Linked DNA regions of Homo sapiens: region 2 is linked to region 1. Evidence: promoter capture Hi-C in 16 types of primary human blood cells and fetal thymus (Javierre and others, 2016). All regions are on one chromosome and are shown on one strand. Each heading gives the region's core, a stretch centred on a gene start or on the middle of the fragment in contact. The rest is flanking DNA. Distances are from core to core; before and after follow the strand shown.

Evidence for each region. Contacts are between HindIII fragments. The CHiCAGO score rates a contact against its expected background, and 5 or more counts as called.
Region 2: a contact is called between a fragment that was not itself captured here and the fragment with the promoter of RTP5 in region 1, in 1 of 17 cell types (naive CD8 T cells). The highest score is 6.5, in naive CD8 T cells.

The regions. Positions count from the first base shown.
Region 1 is chr2:241,866,596-241,873,657 of GRCh38, forward strand. RTP5 (receptor transporter protein 5 (putative)) reads left to right here and starts at 3,134. Exons shown (of 2, transcript NM_173821.3): 1 at 3,134-3,319; 2 at 5,119-7,062. The coding sequence starts at 3,162. The coding sequence ends at 6,679. RefSeq lists an enhancer at 5,218-5,774. The HindIII fragment of the contact is 6,184 bases long and covers 1,218-7,062 here.
Region 2 is chr2:240,845,864-240,852,911 of GRCh38, forward strand. No RefSeq gene overlaps it. Among named protein-coding and RNA genes, the nearest start is that of AGXT, 19 kb to the right of the region's middle. The HindIII fragment of the contact is 1,916 bases long and covers 1,757-3,672 here.

The DNA of each region.
Region 1 (7,062 bases), core at 1,884-4,383:
GAGGCTGCGTCCCCCCACCAGCTGCCGGTCCTGGGATCCCTGCCCGCCTGGGCAGCGCTGGGGCAGAGCCACACGGAGCCTTGGGCCAGGAACAACCCCTTGCCGGTGGGGCCTGTGGGACTGCAGGGCCTGGGGTCTGGGAGGCGGCCTTGTCCCTGCCGCTGCAGCCACGAGCTGAGGTCTGTGTTGGGAGGGTGAGCCCCAGCTGAGGTCTGTGGGGGGAGGGTGAGCCCCAGCACCTGCGAACGGCCACCGTTCTCTGCTCGGCTCCTTTTCCTGCCCGTCTCTTTCTCCCTCTGAGCAAGGACCACCATCCCGTCAGCCGACCGGTCCTCTGGCCCCACCGGGCCTTGGCGTTTGCTCCTCCCTCGCCGGGAGCTGCTGCCTCTGCTCCTCCAGGCCCAGGCAGTGCATCCGTTCTGGCAGGAGACTGTGGTGGGACTCACCTGAGCTGCAAGTTCTGCTTCCCAAGGGAGGGCTGTCCCCGGCCTGCCAGCTGCCCTCCCCAGAAGCTGAGCTCAGGAAGACGGGTACCAGCGTGTGAGGAAGGGGCCCCAGAAGGAGCGCGTGTCTGCGGGGAGAGGGAGCGCTAAGCCACCACACCAGGTGGGCAGCAGTGCTGAAGGGGCACCCGGCTTCCCCTGATCGTTTCTTTTCCCTGTGGCCCAATCTCCCACCCCCATCTCACCCTGTCCTGGAGCCAGCCTTCGGGGAGGCTGGGCAGGGAGCGGGGTCAGAAGGCGTCTGCCCCAGGCCTGGGTCCTAGGGCCTGTCCTTGGAGGGACCACACATGCCTGGAGAGAGGCTCCAGTGGCCGGCTCCAGGTGGGCGCTGATGCAGAAGGCCCAAGGAGGACCCTGCCACATGTTGCAGGGACCCGTGGGTGCTGTGCACAACCTGCCTCATCCATCCCCGCCGAAGAAGAGGGGGTGCTCATGGCTGGCTGATTTGTGAGGGGGCCACGTAAGCAGCTCTTGCAGGGCGTGGCTTGTGGGTTTGGGAGACAGACAAATGGGCAGTCAGACAGAGGCGTGGACAGGATGCCCTCTCTGCTGTCTGCCGCCCAGGCCTCTGGAGGTGTTCTGGGATGGGTCTAAGGAAAACTCAACAATTCTTGAGCGAATAATGCCCGGGCAACCAGCTCCCTGCATTTCATAAGGGCCGGAATTGCCATCCAAAAGGTTATTTTGGGTGACTGTGGTCAGTCATCATTCCAAAGCTTTTCCCTAAACTCAGAGCCAGGTGTGGCCTCCAGGGCTGAGGAGCCTGAGAGGTGGGACTGGCAGGCAGGGCTGTGGCCCCAGCGTGGCACGGAAGCAGCCAGGAAACACTGGCTCTGGGGGGCTGTGGTGGGAGGAGGTCCTCTGCAGGGACCCCTGTGGACCGAGGCTTTTGGAGGCAAGTGGACAGTAGGTGTCTCTTAGACCCCTGCGGGGGCACACGACCAGGACCACAAGGGGCCCACACACGCACAGTGGCCCGGAGCCAACCAGCAAACCCCAGGACCTTAGATACAGCCCGGCGAGTGAGTTAGGATTGCTCCGGCTAGCTGTGTGATCATCCACAGTGCCAGAGAACAGTGCCTCGAGACCACAGTGGCAGCTGGCTTACTTCTCGTGTGAACAGGAAACCCAGAGGTGGGCGACCCTCCAGTGGTGTGACGACTCCATCTGTCACCACAGCCCCGGGCTCCCGCCTTCCTGCTCCTTGGGCTCACAGCTCTGTGCTTGAGGCAGGTCTAAGACAGGCTGGAGTGCGGCCATCATCCCAGCACTGATGGATAGAAGAAAATGAAGCTGGGATGAGAAACGCGGGGCTTTCCCTGGCAGTCTGGCCCTGTATGGAGGCCCCTTCCCAGAGTGCGTCCCACTGGCTTCCTCTTCTATCTTGCAGTCACACCTAGCTGCAAGGCGGGAAGATGTCACAGGTTTGAAAGGGCCGAAAAGAAGGTTCAGAAATGAAAACTATGACAAGGCGCTTGCCAGCATTAGCTGCAGAGTCGACAGAGACGAGGAGATAATGTGTGAAGTGGTAGAAAAATGAGAAGAGATTGTTCAGTGTGCAGGGCAGAGAGATGGCGAGATGGGAGCTGTGAGGAGAGCCGGGTGGCCGGGAGCCTCCCGGGGGCAGATCTGTGCTGAGGTTTTGCAGGGATCAGCTGGCTGTCTCCGCCCCTGCACGTCCCGGCTCCTTCTCAGCTCACCCTTTCTTGTTGTGCCATGACAGGTGGCTGCCACGCACAGCAATGCTGTTGAATCTCAGAAATTAAACAACCTGAAAAGGCGTGAGAAGCTGGGCACATGCATGAATTGTTTATGTAAAGCTCAGAAGCTGCACAGCTAAAGGGCTCGGTGAGGGAGGCATCATAGGTGTTGAAGCCTCAACGTTGTCTGTGCAGGCACGGCCAGGCTGGTGGCACCTCTGCCAGGAGGGCAGGGGGTGGGGGTGGGGCCGCGGGCTGAGATCGGGAGGGAACAGGCAGCCAGCTCTGGAGGCTGGCAGAGCGAGGTTTTGTTTCTTCCTATAGGACGTGGTGACTTAAGACTTTAGAATAATTTGTGAAGCTCTGCATTTATGTTTTAGGCATTTTATGTAAATATTTTATATTTCTCACTAGTAAAAAGTTTAAGAGAATACACCCACGGGACAATCTGCAATGATACACGTTCTATAAAGTTCTTCTCAGCTTTGTTTGTGTGAAAAGCATTAGTGCTGTTTGCAGAGAGAAGCTGAGTGAATAAGTTACATGATAGCCACAAGCTGGAAAAATACCAAGTGTTCAGCAAGGGATGAGTGTGGGCCACCGCTCCTGATGTGCACTAGAAAGAGAGGGCTGTGGATGATTCCTTGGTGCGATGTGTGAAAACACCCGGGCCTCTACACGCACGGGTCTGGGGAGGCCCCTGCGTGTCCACGGGCCCACGCCCACCACCACCACCACGGTGCTGCCACAGGGATGCTCTCTGGGGGGCGGGGTCATGGGAGATTGCATTGTATTGTATTTTTCCTTTCTGCTTCCCATTTCTCGGAGACAAATCTGGTTGCCATGGAGACCATGCTGTTGTCAAGGTGGCTGATTGGCCGGCGCGGGATGCGGGGACGTTTCCTTGGGCCCCCGGCGGGCGCAGCCCTCAGCCCACACTGCGGAGCCAGGCGGCAGCATGGACCGGGCTGGGGCAGACATGTGGGCCAGCACCTTCACCCTGGCCATGGCCGAGAGGAAGCCCCAGGACGTCTGGGTTCTGCTACCTGAGCACAGCCTGGTCCCGGGATGCCTGGACGGCGGTGGTGTCCAGTACCTGCTGGTGGGGCTCTCGAGGTGCGGCCAGAGGTTGGGGACCCTGGGAGAGGCAGGGGGCTGAAGGTGCTTTTCCACGGGACCTTGGGTGGTCCCAGAGGCTGGGTGGGGCTGTTGGGCCTCGTCTTGTCCCCGAGACGGGAGGGTGGGGCTGGGTGCTCCTTCTCCCGCCGGAGCCCCTGCCTCGCCATGCTGGGCACACGGCTGCTGACGCAGGGGTCCCGGGGAAGACATGGCGGGTGCCTCATGGAGAGTTTGGTTTCCCTCACTCGGCTCCTTGGGCCAGCGCTGCCCTTGGACACAGGCTCATCTCCTGCTTCCATGGCACTGCCGTGGTCTCGCAGCCATCAGTGCTGACAGGTGGGCCCTGGGGCGTGCCGGAGCCTGTGGTCACCATCCGGCCCTGTGTTGCACACAGCGGGGTGCTCGGCCCTGATCGGGGGCCCGGGGTGGCTGTGGGTCACAAGTGAGCCTCACAGGCCGTCATCACGGTTGTGGTGCCGTCAGCGCAGCAGGGCGGGCGCCATGCGCTTCTCCAACTGGCAAGGCATCCACAGCTCGGCCGGGTGCCAGCTGGGAGGGGCGCGGGGCAGCTCCACATCCTCGCAGATGCCCGGCCTGACAGGCCCCCAGGCTGCTGGCTGGTCCGTCCCTCTGTGGAGACACCCTGGGCAAAGGGGGAGTCGTCCTGCCCTTTGACACAGCTCCTCAGTGCCTGAGACCCCTGGGGCCAGGTGTGTGCAGAATCCCAGCTTTTTCAGAAGCTGGGAAAGTAATAACCCGTGTTGGGGTCTGAGAAGTGCTGGGAAGCACATCACTGTTCCCACAGCCAGGTGGAGATGGCTCTGAGCGGCTCCCAGCTGGCGGGAGAGAACTGAGGACGGCTGCCCCAACATGCAGCCCCAGCGCCCGTGGCTTTGGCTCCTCAGTCCCATTTAAATAAAGTCAGCAGTTCAGTTCCTCCAGCACGAACGTGTCCACGGGCTCTGTGGCCAGTGTGGTTGGAGGCTGCAGGCAGGGCAGTGTGGCTATAGAACATTCTGTCATCCAGAAACTTCCACTGCCTGGAACTGAATCATAGCCTCTCACTCATGCAGGGTTCCCTGAAGCTCACAGCTGCTTGTGTGGCTAGCAAATGGTCACCGGTCTGATGACCGCCATGGACAAGCCAATCCCTCCCAGTGCTCTCCCCAAACCTCTCCTCGCCTGGTGACGCCCAGCAGGGCTGCCCGGGCCATGACCGCAGGCCTCCGTGACATCCTTCCCCTCAGCTGGCAGGCGACCTCCTGGATCGCCTCCTCTCAGTCAGGACAGGGACCCCCACTTGCTGAGCCCCCAGGGACAGCCCCCACATGCATGCTTTTCCCCTCCTAAGTGTGTCGGCAGGCCTGCCTCTTCCTGTGTTAACCCCAACTCACAAAACACCAGCAGAGCCACGCAGGTGGCAGGCTGCCGACGCCTCACGGAGGCCAGGCTGGAGCGGGTTTTGTTGAAAAACTGCTGAGAGGAGGTTTGCTTTGCTTCTCAGTGCTCCACATGAGGGGGCTGCGGGCTAGTGCGCATGGGCCTGCTTTTGCCTGTGTGTGGCCGAGGGGCTGGTGGTTTCAGAGCCTCGGCACAGGCAGGAGCAGGTGCTAGGCTGCCTTGGCCGCGGCCCTGGGTGGCTGGGGGGTGAGGTTTGAGGTTTGAGTGTGGGATGTGAGGCAGGGGGCAGCGAGGCGCTGGGGTCGGATGGGCAAGGAGGCCGCAGAGCAGAGTGCGAGGGCTGGGCGTGGGGCCTCTTTCTCCTGCACTCACACACACTTCTTTCCCCGCCGCAGGCTCCAGTGCGGTCACTGTCCGGGGACCTGGGACTCGGCCCATGTGCACGTCCTCTTCCACCTGTGGTGGGACAGGGCCAGCCACCGGGGGCTGGTGAAGATGCGCATCTGGGGCCAGCGGTGCAGGCTGTGCCCCGCACCCGGGGACTGCCAGGTGAGGCCCCCGGGCGAGCAGCCCTTCCTCAGCAGGCTGGTCTTGCACATCCTGCAGGACTGCTACGGGGATGGCCCCGGCCCAGCCCGGCACCCCAGGGAGGCCTATGAGGGCTGCTGTGAGGCCTGTGAGCTGGGGGTCTGCTTCCTCCAGAAGGCCCCAGACCCCGCCTGGAGCGCCAACGCCACAAAAGGCAACTTCCCCGCCACGGCCTGGGGTGGCACTGGCACCGTCTCCAGGGGCAAACCGCTGTCCACCCCTGGCGACGACCTTGGCAAGGGTGGCGTTGTCATCGCCATCCCCTTCTCCCTTGTGGGTACCAGCAATGACCAGGTGCCCATCGCTGAGGGCCCTGCCCCCCCTGCGGGGGCCTCTCTCCCTGTGACTGGCAGCTGTGAGGCCCTGGTCATCGGCCAGGGCTCCATCTTCCTGTCTGGGGATTCAGTGGCCATGCCTGGGGGCAAAGGCTTCCCGGTGGCCATTGGAGACCCCCTCTTCCACGGCCCCGGCCTCCTCGGCAGCAGCATCCAGACCTTCGAGCTCAAGGGCTTCCTCTTCAAAGGCCGGGGCTCCCTCTGCAGCCCGGTTGGCGTGGCCCAGGGCTGGGGCCCCATCTCCCTCAACAATGGCCTCGTCCCTGTGGGGAAACACACGCCAACCGTGTTCTACTGTGTGGGCCTCTCGGCCAGCGGGGAGGGCTCCCTCACCTTCCCCTCCTCCCTCACCAGCATCTTCACCAACACCCTCTCGGAGCCCACCGATGGCCCTGTGGCCACTAAAGAGGCCTCCATCACCTTCCCCTTCATCTTTACTGATGTCAAGGATGCCGTTGCTGAGGTGGCTGAAGGCAACGGGAAGGAAGGAGGCGGCCAGGGCCTCGTCCCAGTGGGTCACGACGCCCTGCCAGAGACCAATGCTGGTGGCCTCCCCTCCCAGGTCAAGGGCTCCCTTGCCCTCCCCTTCCCTGCTGATGTCCAAGGCAAAGATGCCTTTACTGACATCACTGAAGGCAAAGAGAAGGAAGGTGGCCTGGTCACCGCGGGTCACGACGCCCCTCTGGAGGCCAATGCCGAGGGCCCCATCACGGTTAGTGAGGGCTGCATCACCATCCCCTTCGCAGTCTTCGATGTCATAAAGCGCAAGGGCGGTGGCCACGTTGCCTACGGCCCCCAGGGCAATGGCTGCTTCTCCCAAGGCTATTACCAGAAGAGGCAGCTGAGGTCCAGGTTCCACAAGGCCCGCTGTGGGTGCCGCCGGGAGGAAGACGAGCGCCCTGGCCGTGCCTGCCGTAGGCCGCACGCCGAGCCCTACGAGGACTTCTGGATCTGGGTGTCCATGACCGTGTGCGTCTTCTGGCTGATGTGCATGTGTCGGCTGAACCCCGGGATCTACCCGCAGCAAGTGTGACGCCCCGAAGTTCAGGCAACCCTCGCCTCTGGGACCCCGCCTCGCCTCTGAGACACCCCCCAACCCCGCCTTTGAGATGCCCGCCCCGCCTCCGAGACCCCGCCTCCACCTCCGAGACCCCTTTCTCTGAGACCCCCGCCTCTGAGGCCCCGCCCCCCGCCTCCGAGACCCCGCCCTGCCTCTGAGACCCCGCCTCACCTCTGAGACACCCCCCAACCCCACCTTTGAGATGCCCGCCCCGCCTCCGTGGCCCCGCCTCCACCTCCGAGACCCCGCCTCCACCTCCGAGACCCCTTTCTCTGAGACCCCTGCCTCTGAAGCCCCGCCCCCCGCCTCCGAGACCCCGCTTCACCTCCGAGGCCCCGCCCCCCGCCTCCGAGACC
Region 2 (7,048 bases), core at 1,465-3,964, 1.0 Mb before region 1:
ATGGGCTTGTGGGTGCCCAGAAGTCAAGAATTGAGGTTTGGGGAGCTCCCAATCCCTAGATTTCAGAGGATGTATGGAATTTCCAGAATGTCCAGACAGAAGTTTGCTGTAGGGCAGAGCCCTCATGGAGAACCTCTACTAGGGCAGTACAGAAGGGACTGTGGGGTCAGAGCCCCCACACAGAGTCCCCACTGGGGCACTGCCTAGTGGAGCTGTGAGAATAAGGCCACCATCTTCCAAACTCCAGAATGGTAGATCCACCGACACCTTGCGCTGTACATCTGGAAAAGCTGCAGACACTCCATAGCCAGCCCATGAGAGCAGCCAGGTGGGGGGAGGGGAGGTGTTGTACCCTGCAAAGCCACAGGGGCAGAGTTGCCCAAGGCCATGGGAGACCACCTCTTGCATAAGCATGACCTGGATGTGAAACATGGAGTCAAAGGAGATCATTCTGGAACTTTAAGGTTTAATGACTGCCCTGTTGGATTTCAGACTTGCATGGGGCCTGTAGCCCCTTTGTTTTGGTCAATTTCTCCCTTTTGGAATGGGTGTATTTACCCAATTCCTGTACCCTCATTGTATCTAGGAAGTAACTAACAAGCTTTTGATTTTACAAGCTCATAGACAGAAGGGAATTGCCTTGTCTCACATGAGACTTTGGACTTGGACTTTTGTGTTAATGCTGAAATGAGCTAAGACTTTGGGGGACTATTGGGAGGGCATGATTGTGTTTGAAATGTAAGGATACGAGATTTGGGAGGGGCCGGGGTGGAATGATATGGTTTGGCTCTGTGTCCCCACCCAAATCTCACCTTGAATTGTAATAATCCCCATGTGTCAAGGGCAGAACCAGGTGGAGGTAACTGAATCATGGGGGCAATTTCTGCCATGCTTTTCTCATGATAGTGAGTGAGTTTTCATGGGATGTGATGGTTTTATAAGGGGCTTCCTCATTTGCTTGGCACTCTTTCTCCTTCCTGCCTCCATGTGAAGAAGGATGTCTTTGCTTCCCCTTCTGCCATGATTGTAAGTTTCCTGAGGCCTCCCCAGCCCTGCATAACTGTGAGTCAATTAAACCTCCTTCCTTTAAAAAATTACCCAGTCTCAGGCAGTTCTTTATGATAGCGTGAGAACAGGCTAATACAGACTCTCAGCTTATCTTTCCTAAATACAGAAAAATGAGGGCCTCAGCAAAAGCCTGGCTGCATCAATGCAGGTTTTCTATACAGATGCAAATTTCCCCACAAAAGAAAGCTTTGCAGGGCTGCTTCTGTTTTCAGGCCCTCTGAACAGCCATCTCAAAATATGTCAAAGAAGTTTATTTGTGGGGGATATATTTTGGTTTCCTTTCTGGTGGAAGCTCAGATCCTGGGGGAAGGTGAGCCTCCAGGCCTGCCTCCTTCTCTCCCTCTCCGCTGCCCAGAAACTCCTGGGACAGGGAGTCTGGACCCTGGTGAGAGAATCTGAGAGAGTGGGCTGGCCAGGCAGCCAGGGCAGGGCAGCCACACAGCCCTGCAGAGAGCACTGGCCGGACCTGTGGCACAGCTGGCCTCCTGCCAGGAGCTGCCCGTGTGCCAGGCACCATGGCCAATCCCTTCCCTGTCAACCCTAAATAAAGAGATTCAGAAAACAGGATGAAATGGACAGTTAACTTGAGCACAGAGCATAAGGACAGCCACCTGGGAGCACAGACTCCAAAGAGTGGGAGTTGGTGCTCCGAAGTTCTGGGGGCTATTTGTATAGATAAGGTTTGGGAAGCTTAACAGGTGATATGGTTTGGCTGTGTCCCCACCCAAATCTCATCTTGAATTGTAGTTCCCATAATTCCCAGATGTCATGGGAAGAACCCAGTGGGAGGTAACTGAATCATGGGGACAGTTTCCCCTATCCTGTTCTCATGATAGTGAGTGAGTTATCATGAGATCCTATGGTTTTATAAGAGGCTCTTCCCCCTTCACTCTGCACTTCTCTCTCCTGCCACCATGTGAAGAAGGACTACAGTTGTACATTCGAGGTAAGGAACACCGTTGGGCATTAGAGGGAGAGGAGCACCACTGTACTTTAGAGGGTGAGGTGCACCATTAGGCATTAGAGAGTGAGGAGCATGGTTGTGCATTAGAGTGTGACAAGCACCATTGTACATTAGAGGGTGAGGAGCACCGTTGTACATTAGAAGGTGAGGAGCACCATTGTGCGTTAGAGGGTGAGGAGCACCGCTGTACATTAGAGGGTGGGGAGCACCACTGTGCGTTAGAGGGTGAAGAGCACCGCTGTGCGTTAGAGGGTGGGGAGCACCGCTGTACGTTAGAGGGTGGGGAGCACCGCTGTGCGTTAGAGGGTGAAGAGCACCGCTGTGCGTTAGAGGGTGGGGAGCACCGCTGTGCGTTAGAGGGTGGGGAGCAGGGCTGTGCGTTAGAGGGTGGGGAGCACCGCTGTGTGTTAGTGGGTGGGGAGCACCACTGTGCGTTAGAGGGTGGGGAGCACTGCTGTGCATTAGAGGGTGAAGAGCACTGTTGTGTTAGAGAGTGGAGAGCACTGCTGTGTGTTAGAGGGTGAGGAGCACTGCTGTGCATTAGAGGGTGGGGAGCACTGCTGTGTGTTAGAGAGTGGGGAGCACTGTTGTGTTAGAGGGTGGGGAGCATCACTGTACATTAGAGGGTGGGGAGCACCGATGTGTGTTAGAGGGTGGGGAGCACCGCTGTGTGTTAGTGGGTGGGGAGCACCGCTGTGCGTTAGAGGGTGGGGAGCACTGCTGTGTGTTAGAGGGTGGGGAGCACTGTTGTGTTAGAGAGTGGAGACCACTGCTGTGTGTTAGAGGGTGGGGAGCACCGCTGTACATTAGAGGGTGGGGAGCACTGCTGTGTGTTAGAGGGTGGGGAGCACCGCTGTACATTAGAGGGTGGGGAGCACTGCTGTGTGTTAGAGGGTGGGGAGCACTGTTGTGTTAGAGGGTGGAGAGCACTGCTGTGTGTTAGAGGGTGAGGAGCACTGCTGTGCGTTAGAGGGTGGGGAGCACCACTGTACATTAGAGGGTGGGGAGCACTGCTGTGTGTTAGAGAGTGGGGAGCACTGTTGTGTTAGAGGGTGGGGAGCACCGCTGTACATTAGAGGGTGGGGAGCACTGCTGTGTTAGAGGATGCGGAGCACTACGGTACATTAGAGGGTGGGGAGCACTGCTGTGTTTTAGAGGGTGGGGAGCACTGTTGTGTTAGAGGGTGGAGAGCACCGCTGTACATTAGAGGCTGAGAGCACTATTGAAGTTTAAAGGGTGTATTAGTCATTCTCACCTGCTCTTAAGGAATACCCAAGACTGGATAATTTACAAAGGAAAGAGGTTTAATTGACTCACAGTTCTGCATGTGGGGAGGCCTCAGGAAACTTACAATCACGGCAGAAGGAGAAGTAAACTCGTCCTTCTTCACTAGGCGGCAGGAGACAGAAGAGTGAGGAACAAAGGGGGACGAGCCCCTTATAAAACCATCAGATCTCGTGAGAACTCACTCACTATCATGAGAACAGCATGGGGAAACTGCCCTCATGATCCAATCACCTCCCACCAGGTCTCTCCCTATATATATAAAACGGGGATTAAGGGGATTACAATTCCAGATGGGATTTGGGCGGGGACACAACCAAGTCACATCAGAGGGTGAGGAGCACCGCTGACACTAAAGCTTGAGTCCTGGGCCCCACAGCATGTGATACTGGGACTTGTTTACATCTCAATTCTTTAAAAAGATGTCTTTTAGATGACTGGGCAAACATGTCTATGGCCAGGCTCCCAGGTGATAGAAAGGAATTGTTATTGGCTTTTTTAAGTGTGACAATGGCATTGAGGCTGTGTGAAAAAGGTCCATCTTTTTAGGTGTGCACTGGAAGATCTGGGTGGAAGAACACACTGTCGGGGTTTGCTTTAAATCTTCAGCAAAATTAAACAAGTAATACGGAGGGGGTCCTGAGAAAAGAAGCTGGACAGCAGGACGCTGCCGGCTGTTGAGGCCGGTGCTGGCGCCAACAGTTTCACTGTCCTCATGTCTGTGCCATTGGAGAACGTCCTCATTACTTAGAAGATATTTTAAAATGGGACAGCTGTGACGTGTGCTTCAGTGGGAGGCTCCCTCCTCCCTCACAAGGAGGTTTGGCTTCCTTCCCCATAGAAGATTCTCCCCATTACCCCAGGGCTAAGCTGAGGGAGGAACAAGAGGGCTCACCCCACAGACCTTACAGAGCTGTCCTGAGAAGAAGTGGAGGCTGGGCCAGGGATGGGGTTTGCCCAAGGACACACTGCAGGTTGAGGGCAGAGCCAGGCACTGAGCTTGTCGAGAAGGCCGAGAAGCAGCCCCGAAGTTCAGGGCCCATGGCTACGCCAAGTGCCATCAGGAACCGGGCTGTGGAAGCCCCTAAGGACGGCCAGAAGGACCAATCTAGGGGCCTTCATAGCAGCTCACTCACCACGGGGAAGAGACAGTGCAGGGGCAGGAGCAGTGAAGGGCGGTGGGCGCTGCCCAGGGCAGGCCCAGCCAGGGCAGTGAAGGGCGGTGGGCGCTGCCCAGGGCAGGCCCAGCCAGGGCAGTGAAGGGCGGTGGGCGCTGCCCAGGGCAGGCCCAGCCAGGGCAGTGAAGGGCGGTGGGCGCTGCCCAGGGCAGGCCCAGCCAGGGAGGGTAGTCAGGCTGGTCTAGGGGCCAGAGCCCTGCGTGAGAAAGCCCCACCCACTGCTTGTTGATGACGAATGGTGGCAGATGGGGGTCAGAGGGCACTGGGAGCACCAAGGCTGGACGGGGAGATGAAGACAGGATGGCTGGGCTACAGAAGGCAAGAGGCACATGAACCCCACAGACATTTCCACTGGAACCCCCGTCAGAGCCACCTGGGTACCCTCTGAGTCATTCAAGTGGAAAAACAAATCCACAAACAAGTCCCTCCCTGCTTAAACCTGACCGACTGCCTCCTGACCATCCTCTGGTCACGCCTGAACTCTGGGCCCCCTGCTGCCGTCCCCCATTGCTGCCGTCCCCCACTGCATCCACCCCATGTGCAGGCTGCTCCCACCCCAGAAGCCTCGAAGGCCAGGGACCCGTGGGGTCCCTCCGTGACTCGGTACCCTTCCCCTCGCTGTCCCCTGAGTTTCCTTCAAATCAGGAAGCCTCCACCAGCCCTGGCCCGCTGGCTGGGTCCCTCCCCGAGAGCCAGGTCACCTGTCACTGTCTCTCACCATCCTCAGCCCCATGGACTGTGCTGCAGGTGGCCACTGTCACGTCACCCAGGCCAAGCACACCCGTCAGGATTCCCAAGGCAGGTCGGTGTCCAGCCGCTTCCCTGAGGCTGCAGGCCCAGGCGGGCTGCGGAGTCTGTGCCTACATACCGCGGGCCGAGCTTGCTCCAGGCAGGGACGGCGCGGGAGGCACAGGTCCTCTTTGGGCCTTTCTGCAGGTCCTCCTGCCCCACATGGACATGCCAGCTGTCACTTGCACCATCAGGAAGAACAAGAATCCTGTGTGCCCTGTGGTGGGGCCACAGTCGGCCGCTAGGTGTCACTGTTTCCTCAGAGACCAGCACATTGTCCCTATGCTTTCTCTCTGCAGTCCCTGGCTGGCAGCTCCTTGGGCAGGGTGGTGACCTCTGACCCCAGACCCGTCCCCCCTGAGCTGGTCCTGGCTCCACCGGGAGCTCCGTCCCCTGGGCTTCCTGCTGATATGTAAGTCAAGCCTGAGCTGCCGCGTTGGGGCCACTGATCTGGGCAGAGCCTCGTGGGGTCTCCCAGGGGCTCAGACGTTGGCCAGGACCCCACAGGGAGGATGCTCAGGTCAAAAAGATGCCCGCACTCCGGGCGCTGCCCAGAGCTCTTAACTCTCATGCTGAGAACAGCTTTGTGTGCTGAGTGTTTCGCACACCCGCAGGCCCCGCACGTTCTGCCTGCTGTTCCCTGTAATCCTGACCTCGCCTGGGAGTGGCAGGGCCACCCACTTCGGGAGCGGTGGAGATTGGACTATTTAGAGCACACACGCTGGGGAACCAGGGGAAGAGTTGTGAAGGGGTTAAGCAAAAGAAGCCTTTCTCCTGGGCTTGTAGATGGCCGTCTTCTCCCTGTGTTTCCACATGGCTGCCCCCCATGTCTGTGTCCTAATCCCCTCTACTTATTAAGACACAGTGGGGTTGGATTAGGGTCCATCCTAACAGCCTTATTTAACCTTAATTAGCTCTTTAAAGACCTTATCTCCAAATATGGTCACATCCTGAGGGACTGGAGGCAAGGACTTCAACACATACATTTTGGATGGCACAATTTAGTTCAAAACACCTCCCAGCCCCAGCTGGCACTGCCTTCCCGAGCAGACCCTCCAGGCTCTCTGCTGTGATCTGCCATTGCTGTAGGTAGAGTCCATCCTCCCATGATTCCGCGGGGCTCTCAGCATAAACCCAAATCCTTCCTGTGGCCCCACACACCCTTTGGCCACCCTGCAACCTCCCCCTGGCCACACTGTCCTTCCTCTGATCCTGGCTGCACCCTCCCCTCCTACCGGGGGTCTTGCGGGTGCTGTCCAGCAGGCCTTGCTGCTCTGGGCCCCATCTTCATGCCCAGATTAACCATTCTCCCCAGGCAGATCTTGGCTCAGATGTGGCTTCCGCCAGAAAGTCTTCCTTTCCCTCCTGCTCACTCCCTGCCGCGGCCGCCTCTCCTCTGAGGTCTTACCATGCGGTTGCCCAGGTCCCCACTTCTGGGCCAGCACATTGGAGCAGTGAGCCTGTGCATTTTCTCACTGTTTTATTCATGATCATTTATTCTCTTATGATTAATCCAGAGAAGATTATCAATAAATGATGGTGAATAAACAAAAACATGAATTAATGAATCAAAACCTCAGAACTTGCCCAGGATGGGAAAACAAGGTTGTCAGCATTGAGGACAGTAGCTGTGGCTCTAACCAAGAATCAACCGTGTGGAGGGAAACCACACCACTGCCTGAGGTGGAAACAGGTGGCTGTGCAGGTTTGCCAGGGCTCCAGGCTGACAGTTCTCCAGGAGGGCTTGCTGATCTTTGATTTTTTT